Linked DNA regions of Homo sapiens: all the other regions are linked to region 2. The links are contacts of gene promoters, found by promoter capture Hi-C in blood cells and fetal thymus (Javierre and others, 2016). All regions are on one chromosome and are shown on one strand. The core of a region is centred on a gene start or on the middle of the fragment in contact, and the rest is flanking DNA. Distances in the headings are between cores, read along the strand shown.

Region 1 (4,576 bases), core at 1,222-3,721, 310 kb before region 2:
CGCACCGAGGTACACGAAAGTCAGGAACTCACATACAGTGTACCATCTTGGACACACCAAACGTTTCTATTGTGTTGAGGTAGAAAGTGAAATGAAACACTAACAGAGAGCCTCCATTATGAAAAATGCTGCCTTCCGTTTCAAGTACTTGCCAGGCACTCAGTAGCTCTTTTGTGGAGGGAAAAGTAGCGCAAAATGCTCTACCTCCCACATTAATGGAAACCAAGCACTTGACTACTATAAAAAATATTAATTCAAAGGAGTCTGATTGCATTTATTATCATTAAACTCTTGCACAATAGACATATGATGATGACCATATATTAGAAAATTTGTAATATTTAAATGACACATGAAATGACTACTTATTAAATTATTAAAACAAAGAATAGTATAATACATACTCTCTTCCATAATATTTTGGTCTGTTTTCCACCTATATTAAAAAGAAAAAAAAATTAATAATGCATTTGAATTCAAATCAGCTAGATAAAAATGCTATTCAAATAAACAGAACTAGGGTCCTGGTAGTAATTTTATTACAGATTGTATCCTCCAAATCAGAGATCCATGAAGCTATGGAGTTATAATCAGCACATTCCAGTATCAGGTAGGAATGACCTAGAATCAATCATTAGGCTCATTTCCCACCCAAACCCAATCATCCAATAAGAGAATTTTCAACAAAAACAAAGCGATGCTTATTTTAATATTAAGGAATTTGTAAGGATATTATAAGGCTTCATCCTGAAGGATAAAACAACTACTCTGTCATGAATAAAACATAAGCATTTATTTTACTCTGTGCCTAATTGTTTTTATTATGTATTTATAATTAAAACAAGAAGTCTACCTGGATTAAAAAATAAAGCAGACTTAACTTGATCATGTTCTAAATAAAATCAATATTTTAACATTCTTATTTTTTCAACATGTGGCTAATGGGCTGAAATTCATTTGACACCAGAGGTGCAGGCTACAGGGGACAAGATTTATGACTTGACTAAAACACAAACATTCCAGAAAGGATCTTTCAATCACAGCTTTAGCCTTGAGGTTATCACATCTGATTTTTCTCACATACATGATCATCTGCTTTCATAAGAGCTTTGTTTTCACATGTTTATGATGTTGGAGTTGGTGAGAAAGTGACATGATTTCTCATGCTCGGCCTTTGTTCTTCTCTCCTAACTCCAGGGACACTCAAAACATTGTAGAGCCACATTAAGTTATGGGTTTTTATGAATGGTTCTATGTATGACAGCAAGTTTATGTTTATTCACTGTTGTAGGATACGAGCTTGGCAGCTGTTTTATTCACAGTCATTTCTTCCTAGAGTCAAATGGACAGTTTTCACAGCAGGGCTCAGAGACAGGCACAGTAGCAGGATTTCATGATATGGGGCAGTTTCCTGGCCTAGCTCCATCCTCCAAGGGATGCAGATCTGAATAGGTAACAGGACACTAGGAGCTAGGGGAAGAGGCTCAGAAAGGCGGAGCTGGGGCTTTGGGGACCACACTCACAATGCTGCCTAGGACAAGCCTCGCTGGTACAAAACTTATCATCTAGACACTTCTAAATATGTGTTCACTCTCCTGTGCATTTTACACCTGAGAATTACTCAACCAAGCAGGACATCCATAACTTAATCTTCAAGGTTCAAAGCCTGCTCGGTGTCATTTGTGAAGGAAGATTTAAATAATATCATTAATAGAAGCAGAAAGTGTGTAAAAAGGCACCTGGTTATCTGATATCCTTTCTATAAATGATGTGTGCCATTATTCTACAGGCTGGTAAGCTTTTTAATGAGAATTGAATATGTTGTCATTTATATCAGTCTTTCGGCTTTCAAAGTTCTTTTTTAGTTTTATAATATTATAGACATGTGACTGTAAAACCAACATGCCAGAGAAGAAATTTAGAACTAGAAAAGCCAATGAAAGTTGAGGATATATAATGGCAAAATCTCCATTCTTTGAGAGGCGATATTCCAAAATTTGAAGTGATTCTCTACATATGAGGACGATTTTTAAATTTCCATCTTTTTGGCTGAACCGTAGCACAAGTTTGCAAAATCTGGGTGTAGCTCTCAACCCTATTCCCTTCCTGTATCTTCTTATTTCCCTAAAAGAGAAAGAGTTACTAATCTAACTTCCCAGATGAGCCACATGGTAATACTACTAACTCTTGGCATGCAGGTAAACAGTTAATAGATGCTGAATTTAATTGATTCTTAACAAGACAACAAATTGCTTTCAGTTCATCAACCAATGATAAAAATACACAGCACCCTTATGTTCTGGGCTCTAGGCTCAGGCCAGCCATGTGCATGAAGTAATGACCTTGCAGGTGCAGAGAGGAAAGGTATGAGGCGCTCAGGGGTGTTCTGCACTTGCAGCAGAGGGAAACGCTTAAGGAGAAATCTAACATAGACCCCCAAAGAGGGAAGCTGATATTTAGGGTGCCTTGAAAGATGCCAGATAAGATTCTGCCCAGAAGAGAGTTTGATCCAATTGAGGGACAAATCTTCTGAAAATGAAAACCACTAGAAAATAAAAGAAGAGCCCTGAATTGTGTGGGACAGGCATGGAAGAGGGCCATGGAATACGTCCCAAATATTGCATGAGATATATACTAATACATGATTCCTTGTATATCTGAAATTTAAATTTAACTAGGCATCCTGGTCCCTCCTTCCCTCTCTCCCTTCCTCTCTTCTCCCCTCCCTTCCTCCCTTCTACCCTCCCTTCCCCTCCCCTCCCCTCCCCTCCCTTCCTCTTCCCTTCCCTTCCTACCTCCCTCCCTCTCTCCTTTTCTCCCTCTCTTCCCCACTCTCTCTTTCTTTCCTAAATCTGGCAACCCTATGTAGGGGATAGGAAAGACAGAAGTAAGAGAGAGTAAAGATAGAGGATGTGGTTGGCCATCTGATAACTGCTTCTACTGGTTGAGGGCCATTTTGATAGCAATCCAATCTCTCCTTCCTTTTTTGTCTCTGAAGCTCGTAAAGAAAATATATGTGTCCTTGTTAATGTCAAAGAGAGAGAGAGAGGCTGGGATCAAAAAAACAAAATCCTCTTCTTTTTGTAAACTTTTTACTCACAGGAGTCTAAACACAGTCTCTATTTCTATACTTCACTAAGCTTTAAACCAGTAAAGAGCTTAATGTTTAAGTTAAATGGTGCTATACAAATCATACAACGTCTACATTTCTTCAAGGTGGATAATACTGGATCCTCAGATCCAGAAAGAATAGGTGGCTGGGGGCTAGGGCTCCCAGGGACAAAGGTCTGCCAAGAGACTAAGAACCTCCGTGCTGTGCCCCCAGCAGTGCCTTAGAGAAGCCTGACTCACTCCCTGGGCAAGGCTCCGTGTTGGCCATCAGTGGAAACCAGGACCCACCTGTGAAACTGAATTTAATTAAAGAAACTGTAACTCAATTTCTGTTTCCAATTGTATGAGATTCTCTTCAGTAGGTGTGAAGGCGACAGGATAGTTGATAAATAAAAAGTAAGGCAACTCAGAAATTCTTCTTGCATTCTCATTGAAAACTATGTTTGTTAAAATCAGGCAACTTAATAAAAAAATTTAGGCAGTCACATGGATTCAGAAAGGAATGGAAAATGCAATATATCATGACAAGAATGAAGACTGGTTCTGGAGCTTCCCTGCCACTGTGACTATCCTAGGACAGCAGCTGCAGCTGGTCAATCCATCACCTGGTGAACCTGGCCTTTGTGAGTAGGACTGACGGCTGTCGGATCGGCCATGTCTGCTCTTGGGATTTAGTGCTCTGACTCCAAGAAGTGAAAGCAGCTCATTCTTTTTAAGAGAAAGAAAATATGTAGTCGTGTTACACGGATTACTAGTTCTTCTAATACTGGGTCCTTAGATGATCCAGCTGGCTCAAAAAGGAACACCTCTCTTTACAGAGGGAGAGCACCAAGTAGGAGGTCATTGAGTGAGAAAACACATGAAATGGGTCCTTCCCAAGGCACAGAGGGTTTCACTGTATATGGTGTGACCATGCAGAATGGTGGCTGATTCTTTTTTTTTTTTTTTTTGAGACAGTGTCTCGCTCTGTTGCCCAGGCTGGAGTGCAGTGGGGCAATCTCAGCTCACTACAACCTCCACCTCCCGGATTCAAATGATTCTCCTGTCTCAGCCTCCTGAGTAGCTGGGATTACAGGCGCATACCACCGTGCCTGGCTAATTTTTGTATTTTAGTAGAGACGGGGGTTTCACCATGTTGCCCAGGCTGGTCTCGAACTCCTGAGCTCAGGCAATCTGCCCAACTCAGCCTCCCAAAGTGCTAGGATTACAGGCATGAGCCACCGTGCCTGGCCGGCTGATTCTTTTTAAAAATAAAACTGAACATTTTATTCTAAATAAGCATCATCTACAAGAGAATAGTCACCCCAAGGAGGCACAATACATGCCACTTATATCCCTGTTGACCAGAACATTTTTGGAATTTCTGTTTTGGAACTACCTTAATATATACCACCCTTTCTTGTGAATATCCTTAAAGGTACACTTCTCAAAATGACCAGTGTGGACTGGTCATTCAAAACAGAAA
Region 2 (4,049 bases), core at 947-3,446:
ATCTGGGTTGTCTTCTGTTTTAAGGCCATGTGGCAGAAAAGAGAAGTGGAAGGCGTTCTGGATTAATCATTTGGAGACCTGGGATTCAGGGCTGGCTTTGCTCCTCCCTGGATGATTTCAGAAAAGTCTTTCAGCCTCCCTGGGCCTCTGCTTTTCATCTAACAATCAGATGAGTTGTTAAACTAGATCACTTCCAGGGATATTTTGCTTTACTAGAAAGTTCAAATTCAGTTATCTAGACTCACTCTTTAAGTATCTGTATGTAATTGCAGTTTTAACGTAATACCTACCCATTTTCCCTCTCGCTGCTGCCACCACACAAAAAAAAATTGTTCTAGATTTTTCAAGAAAGAAAATTCCTTTCTCTTCTAAACTCTTAATTTTCTCACACTCTTAGGAAAGCTGAATAGTGCTGCTGAGTTTGTAGAGCCATCTTCAAAAAATAAATGCACAAATTCAGAAATGGTTTTCTGCTTTTCAATGTAAATGCACCAGACCTAAATATCTTCACATTTGTGTGCTATGAATGAGAGGAGCCTGATGCTCAAGGGGTCTGGAGCAGCTGTTCAGAACCTTGATTTGGTGTGAAGCAGTCTGGAAATAATAATAGTACCTACTGCATAGGGTTGTTTTGAGCATTTAATTAGATAACCCTCCTCAGATATTAGCATAGTGACTGGCTGTGGTGAGTACCCAACACATGATGACTATTATTACCATTCATGCTGAAAAGCTGGGCTAATATATTATGACTCCCAAGCATACAGCCTAATGCCTGGAGACAAGAGCTGAAGTGTTAATAGAAGCTCCGCTAACTCATTGCTGGGATATGGCATTTCCCCCTCTACTCTGTGTCTATTATTTTGAAATCATTTTTAAAAGCAATAGTTACTTTGTCTAAAAAAAAATGGAGCTTAGCAGTTGACATTAGAAGTTGTGCTTGTTTTTTATATGGACAGCAGCAAAATGTGTCAGGACCCACCCCAGGCTCCCTGCCTCACCGTGTGGACGATGGTGTGGCCACACCAGAGAAAGTGGCGTGGGCCTGCCCTCAGTGCAAAGGAAAGGGGAGAAGCTGCTTTGTCTTCTTCCTCCTCCTCTTCATTTCTGCCCAGAACACCAACTGGAATTAATTTTCTCTAAAAAGAGACAAATGTGTCTGTAAATCACCCTCCTCAAGGCATGAAAAAAACATACTTCAAAAAGAGAAATAAGCTGTGTTTAATTCCCATAATTAACTTTCTTTATAAGTGTTATCCTTTCTGAGCCAGTAGCTATTAGTGAGATTGCCCTTGTTCTTGAGGCACGGACACATTTAGCATCCTCTCAATTGTACATGAGCCCAGGTAGAAGTTAAAGCAAAACAGCCCTCACGGGAAGGCAGGTAGGTGACAGGATCAGGGGGACCGCCCATTGTTCTCTGAGCCTGTGGCTTTATGTGCCGCTCAAGGGAAAGAGTCAGTGCACGTGGGAGGTTGTGGCAGTGGATGGGAACGCTTCCAAACTAGCAGGGCATGTGGTTAAAACAGAACATCTCTTCTCCATCAGCAAAAACGGGCAGACTCTCTTTATAAACAGTTTTGCAACCATAATTTATTTGAGAACCCAATAGAGACAAAACTTTGAAGCTATTTAAAAATGAATTAGGGAGCTTAATGGGACACTTTATCTTCATCTGCATGGGTGAAGTCCCTGTTGGAAGTACAGTGTCTGACAACCTTTATTGAAATCATCATGGCCCATTGGGTTAGGTGGCAAGCTCCCAGTATGCGAGAGCCATGTTTGTTTCTTATTCAATACTAAGCACGGTGCTTAATGAATATTATAGAATGGAGTTCATGCATGGCTGCCTTTAGATAAAATAAAAATATTGATATTTATTTCCTGCATCTTTTCACCTACTTTTTTTTTTTTTTTTTTTTGAGACAAAGTGTCACTCTGATGCCTAAGCTGGAGTGCAGCATTGCCATCTCAGCTCACTGCACCCTCCAATTCCCGGGTTCAGGTGATTCTCCTGCCTCAGCCTCCCGAGTAGCTGGGATTACAGGCACGTGCCACCATGCCCGCCTAATTTTTGTATTTTTAGTAGAGATGGGGTTTCACTATGTTGGACAGGCTGGCCTTGAACTCCTGACTGGGTGATCTGCCTACCTCAGTCTCCCAAAGTGCTGAGATTACAGATGTAAGCCACTGCGCCCAGCCCCTTTCTTTTTTTAAAATTTTTATTTTAGGTTTGGGTGTACATGTGAAGGTTTGTTACATAGACAAACACGTGTCATAGGGGTTTGTTGTACATATTATTACATCACCCAGGTATTAAGCTCAGTACCCAATAGTGATCTTTTCTGCTCCTCTCGCCTCCCTTTCATTGCCCTTCTCTCCCTGTACTATGTCCCAGGCCCTGGGGACTCTCCTTTGGCCTCCGTTGTTTTCCAGGGCCATCTTCCCACCTCAGCCATCCTCTCCTCAGTCTATTGTGCACAGCTTCTATTTCTCCATGCTTCTTCCATCTGTATCATGATTGTTCTGTTTCTGTCCCCCATTCTGACTTGTTGTCAACTCATTGTTCCATAGAAAGGATCTGATAAATTAAACCCAATAGGGTGGACTCTCAACATGTTTGCATTTGAGTAGAGAGCAGAGCCTACCTGATGGGTAGATATTTGTAATAGGGTAATTTCAAGCACTAACATGCAAACAGAAGGGTGGCAACCAAGGTGGGGTGGGAGAGCGATTCTAGAAGTAGGCTTATAATTATTAGCATTCTATGTAAGCCTGTACCATCATCCTGTTAGCCTGGGCTTGGGATCATGTAATTTGATGGCTAGAAGTGATACTTCAAGAACATCTAGTTCATGTATTTTATCTGTAGATTTTACTAGAGAATATTTATTGAGAATGGACTGTATGGTAGACATCATGCTAAGCACTGTTTTATGCATTACCTCGTTTAATCCTAACAGCTGCCTTATGAAATAGGTGCTATGATTATTCTTCCCATTTTACAGGTGAGGTGACCGAGGCTTAGTGAGGTTAGGTATGCCTTACCAAGGTCACCCAGCCAGAAAGTGGAGGAGCCAGCATTGGAACCTAAGCAGTCAGACTCCAGGGCCTGAAGATGGTGGTGAAGAAATGAGCTAGTGGTGCAGCCTTGTTCACCAAAATGCTTGTTCACCAAACTGGGTGCTCTCACCTTGAACTTGCACTGTCTCTAGGACCTGCTTCAGATTCACTTTGTGTCTGAAGGGGAGTCAAACATCCCCTTCCATATTTTATGCTGAATCTCTAAGGTTATTAACCTTACACAAACAGAAAAGAAGTTCTCTAGCTTCTTGAATGTCTCTGTCTTTCTGGCCAAGACTGTTTTAATCATAAAGACTTGGCTTTGATCATTAAGTTTTATAGAGTAAGTGGAAGTTTCAAGTGATATAAGGACTTGAAGTCTTTGGAATGCAATTATTTCTCAAGGCTTGGAACTTGCTGAATTTTATTAGATAGCATTCAAGCTGTTTTAACTCTTGAACCTATGACAAATCTCTATTTTCAGTTATGTTCATCTGCACTTGCCAATATTTTCTTTTTGAATTGAAAATGGATTTGTGACTATTTAATGATTTTAATATTACAAAAATCAGGGTTTAAGCTGCAACCGAAGAACTGAACAAGGGCATATGGAAATGTTTGCAAGTTGGATCTCTGGCTTTTGGACAGCATATCCAAATCAAATCGATACATATGTACTGAGGTTGCACAGAAAAGAATATGAGTAAATCAGAAGTCATTATAAGCTTTGTTGGAAATGAATTACCATGCTGGAGCAGGCAGCATAGAGACATAAATAGTACCTGATTAGATGAGATGTTTAGGTTGAGAATGAGAAATGCTAAGTTACATCCATTATGCAGCTTCATCCTTCTGAATTGTATCTACAGTGAGCAAACAAAGATTCAGTTTGTTGACTGCGGCCCAGTGTGTTCAGACTCTTTATTTAAAAGTCAAATTAACTGTAGTCTCCATTTTAAACAAAAGGGTTTATTCATCTCATTGAG
Region 3 (4,278 bases), core at 276-2,775, 330 kb before region 2:
GGGATTTGAGGAGGAAAGTCTGTGTTTTTAAAGTTTTAGATAATATTTTAAATAACTAGAGCATTATATGTAACAGTCATTCTTTAAAAACTTCTCAAATTTATAAATCAAAAGTTCAACTTTTACTATGTCTCACTACTTTCAACTTTTTCTCCCCTTACAAAGGTCTAAAATAATAACACTCTCCTTCAACTTTTTCATCAACTCCTATAACTTTTTCCCTCCAGTTTCTTCAAAAACAAAAATACAAAAAAAGACAAACTCCCCTAATTAGAAAAACAAATCAAAAAAGTCAAGTATAATCTCACATCCCATACTCAACAAAATACCCAATTTAGGTGAGGGGCTAAGACTCCTCAAACAAGAGTCTCTATTTCAACGCTTACCAATTAAAAAACTAAGTGCCAATAGATGACCCACAGACATAATGCAAATATACTCTCCATTTCTCACCTCAAACCTATTTAATTAAAAAAAAACCTTTAATCAAGAGAACCCTAAATACTTATCCAAATTATTGTCTTTTATCTTTTTAACATATCATCCCACCTAGACTAATAAACAAACATTAATATTTTACTCACAGCCAAAAACCACCATATAATTACTAAAAAGACAAAAACAGCTCAATTTCACCTTAAAAATGAAAGTAATCACCCTAAATCTACCAACACTGTTCCTACGATTAAGCCCAACTAAAATATAAACAAGACACTACCCTGTTTTAAACATTATAAAAATTTTCTTCCAGAATAAATTATTTAAAAGTCCCATGATTAAAAAGCCTCGATGAAATTAAAAACATTCAACAACCCCAGAGGGATCCCTAAAATTAAAACTCATATAGACTCAGCCTGTTGTCCCCCCACCGCCTAGTGAGAGCCACTGGGAAGAGCTCTGAGGTCGTGCTCAGGGCAGGCGCTTGGTGGGTCAGGTCCAGAAGAATGCCTCCTCATCATAGCCTGCCCAGTCCCCATAGGTGTACAGCAGTCCCAGGTGACAGCATCATTTACCTCCTGCAGTCAAAGGTGATAAAAGTGGTGGGACAATTCCTCTCAAACACCACTCTGGAGATGTCAAAATATAAACATCTTGAAAAGCTGGGCTCTTCATCAAACTGTGGCCCACCAATGTTTGGGGATCCCCAAGATCCCTTTAGAGAGTCCATGATGTCAAAACTGATTTTATTACAGTAATTGCCTTCTGTGATTGACATTGCAACTAACCTTTAAGAAACTACCACTTGTTGAATTGTGGTCTAGTATATATTTTAAAGCCCACATTTACCTGAAAAGGCTATAAGAACACTCCTCTTTTTTCCAACTACACATCTGTGTGAGGCCAGACTTCTTCCTATACTTCAAATAAAACAATATATCCCAGGTTGAATACAGGAGCAGATGTGAGAAGCCAGCTGTCTTCTTTTAAGCCAGACACTAAAGAGATTTACAAAAATGTAAAAACAATGCCAATATTCTCATCACTTTTTTATTTGGAAAACAGTGTTATTTTTCACAAAAATATGTTATTCATACTAACACATAATAGGTTTATTACTATTATGTTGAAAGAATTAATAAATATTTTAGATTTTTCTATTTTACTTTCTAATACCATAAATATCAAGATTTAACCCACATTAACAGAAGCTCTTTGGGGTCCTCAGTAACTTTAAAGAGTATAGAGGGGTCCTGAGGCCGAGAAGTTTGAGCACTTTTGGACTAGAATTAGATTCCTGGGATGATTTTTACAAGTCCTAGGCCCGCAGAGCTGCCCACGTGCTTATGCAGAGAAGGAGCACAGGCTACAGAACAGACACCCCAAGCCACTGTGTAGCCTGATCTGTGCTATAAAACTTGAGGAAAGTGGGATGACTCAATGGATTCATTGCTGAAAAATTTGTTCTTGCACATTTTCACATCCGTTAGGTTTGGTCCTTTGTGTCATCAGCATGTAACTCTCCTTTCAGCCACAAGATGGCACTATTTGCATAGAAAATACTTTCTCGGGAGCCGTGTCTCTAAATTAGCTGTTTCCTAGAGAGATTTTGGATGGGGACAAGGAGGGTTTGGCGTTTGGCCCATCATATCCCTCCATACGCTGAATGTATTAGGATGACTTTCCTCTTCCGTTCCTCTTTGAAAACACCGATATTGAGGAACTGGTAAAAAGAGATTCTTTCTAATATCCACCCAAAGAAACCACTAGCTGACCCCTGAGAGAGGGACTAACTTTTCCTTGCCCCTTCATTAAATTCTTTAATCCCACTTCAGTTAATTGTTTCCCATCATTTATATTTCAGGCAATAATCTCGGGAAAGGAGTCATGGAAAGGGAGCAAAGCCAAACCCTGAACCAGCACAGGTAACTGTAGCCACCAGAGTTAACTGTGTGAAGAATGTTTCCCCAGAGGACTTCTCACGTGTTGTGTAAAAGTAGAGAAAGAAGGCTAGGGTCTAATTTACAACATAAAAGAGCCTCAGGAATATAAGAGGCATGGGAAGAAGTGAGACAGGTGTCCTTGAAAGAAAATGCTCCAAAATGTCTGATCACCTTTACTCTCGTCTCCCCTTCCATCTAACCCAGGTTCTCAAGCCCTGCACTTGACAATCACCTGAGGAGCCAAAAAAGACCGACAGGTGCCTTTCACCAGTGAAGACTTTGATTCCATAGGCAGGTGGGGTCAAACATGGGCATTTTTAATATATATTTTTTAATTTAATTTATTTTTTTTTTTTGATACTGAGTCTCACTCCGCCGTCCAGGCTGGAGTGCAGTGGTGTGATCTGGGCTCACTACAACCTCCGCCTTCTGAGTTCGGGTGATTCTCCTGTCTCAGCCTCCAGAGTAGCTGGGATTACAGGCATGTGCCACAGTGCCTGGCTAATTTTTTTGTATTTTTAGTAGAGATGGGGTTTCACCATGTTGGCCAGGCTGGTCTTGAACTCCTGACCTCAAGTGATCCGCCAGCCTCTGCCACCCAAAGTGCTGGGATTACAGGCATGAGCCACCAAGCCCGGCCATGGGCATTTTTTTAAAAGCTCCCAGAGTGAGTCCAACCTTCAGTCAGTTTGAGAACCACCAAGCCAACCAAATCAGCAATTGCTCAGACTGAGTGATAAATCCCAAATCATTAGGGAATTCTGGTTTAAAACAATGCTTGGCAAAACCCAGTCTCATGAGCGGATGTAATCTAAGTTAAATCCATTCTCACTGCATCCTATCCCACCCCATTTTATGACTGCGTGCAAGGGCAGCAAGTCGGCTGGTCAGCATCATCAGGGTACCTGTCACCTACTATAATAGCTAAGTTATGCTCATCTTCATTTACCCTTGAATCCTGAGAAAAGACTGGGTATGTCAGTTACATGTTATTTCCAAAGAACCTCCTGCAGAGAAAATCTATAGGTTCTTTAGACCCTGTAATGCAAGTGATCTTTTCCAGCTCCATAATGCTTTCTGCATTAACAATTCAGGTTCTTTCTTTGGCAAATGAATGCACGCCTCTGCTTGGTGAAGGACAATGGGTAACACTATGTTTGAATCTACTGTCCTGAATGAAGTCACCAAGCCTCTCCACCCCCTAGGACCAAGACCCCCTCCACAGTGGCACAGTTGTGGATCCCATCCAAAAAAAAGGCCTCAACAATCTTAACTCTAAGATAGCTGCTGAAAAGCATCCTTTTCTATCCAAGCCTCCTTGGTGTCACTGAAATACTTTCTAAGCTATTGAGCCGGGTGCCTCAGTTTCCTGTCCTGCAAAACAGAAGGGTTGCATGAGATGGTCTCCACGATTCCCCTGCTTCTCCAGACTCCTGCTGCTCCTGATGCTACAAGGAGTTGGTGGCCAGATCTTAGCCCAGTGAAGGAAGGAGCACGTGCTGAGAGACGGTGCGGGAGATGCTGAGGCACCCTCTTGGTGAATTTGAGATACGCTGTTCCTTAGGGTGAATGTGGGGCAATGTGTTACATTTTAAAAGTCACCCATCCATTTTTCATTCAATCAGTGCTTGCTTCACCGAGTGAGGTGGAGGGCGTTAGAATTAGGAAGTAGGCTGAGGAGTAGCCTCTGCCTCCCACTGATCCACCTCTGGGGAAAGAGACAGACATAGAAACCACAGATTTTTAAATGCAGGTGGGAATCAGAACTGCCTAAAGCTTAAAACACACATTGGCGGAGGGCACCCCAGAGTCCCCCACACAGTGGCTCCTGGGAACGTGCATTTCTAACCAGCCTCCCAGCTGATGTTGATGCTGCTGGTTCCCGAGGGCCATGCTT

The links. Contacts are between HindIII fragments. The CHiCAGO score rates a contact against its expected background, and 5 or more counts as called.
Region 1: a fragment that was not itself captured here is called in contact with the fragment with the promoter of CPVL-AS1 in region 2 in 1 of 17 cell types (endothelial precursors); the score reaches 5.0 in endothelial precursors.
Region 3: a contact is called between a fragment that was not itself captured here and the fragment with the promoter of CPVL-AS1 in region 2, in 1 of 17 cell types (megakaryocytes). The highest score is 5.5, in megakaryocytes.

Annotation. Positions count from the first base shown.
Region 1 is chr7:29,389,539-29,394,114 of GRCh38, reverse strand. It overlaps CHN2 (chimerin 2), which reads right to left. Exons shown (of 13, transcript NM_004067.4): 4 at 405-436. Among named protein-coding and RNA genes, the nearest start is that of PRR15-DT, 170 kb to the left of the region's middle. The HindIII fragment of the contact is 1,342 bases long and covers 1,801-3,142 here.
Region 2 is chr7:29,078,431-29,082,479 of GRCh38, reverse strand. It overlaps CPVL-AS1 (CPVL antisense RNA 1), which reads right to left and starts at 2,196. Exons shown (of 3, transcript XR_001744918.2): 1 at 2,152-2,196; 2 at 1,002-1,139; 3 at 1-158. The region is part of intron 7 of CPVL (carboxypeptidase vitellogenic like); the gene reads left to right. The HindIII fragment of the contact is 9,422 bases long and covers 1-3,790 here.
Region 3 is chr7:29,406,649-29,410,926 of GRCh38, reverse strand. All of the region lies in intron 6 of CHN2 (chimerin 2), which reads right to left. Among named protein-coding and RNA genes, the nearest start is that of PRR15-DT, 150 kb to the left of the region's middle. The HindIII fragment of the contact is 5,269 bases long and covers 1-4,159 here.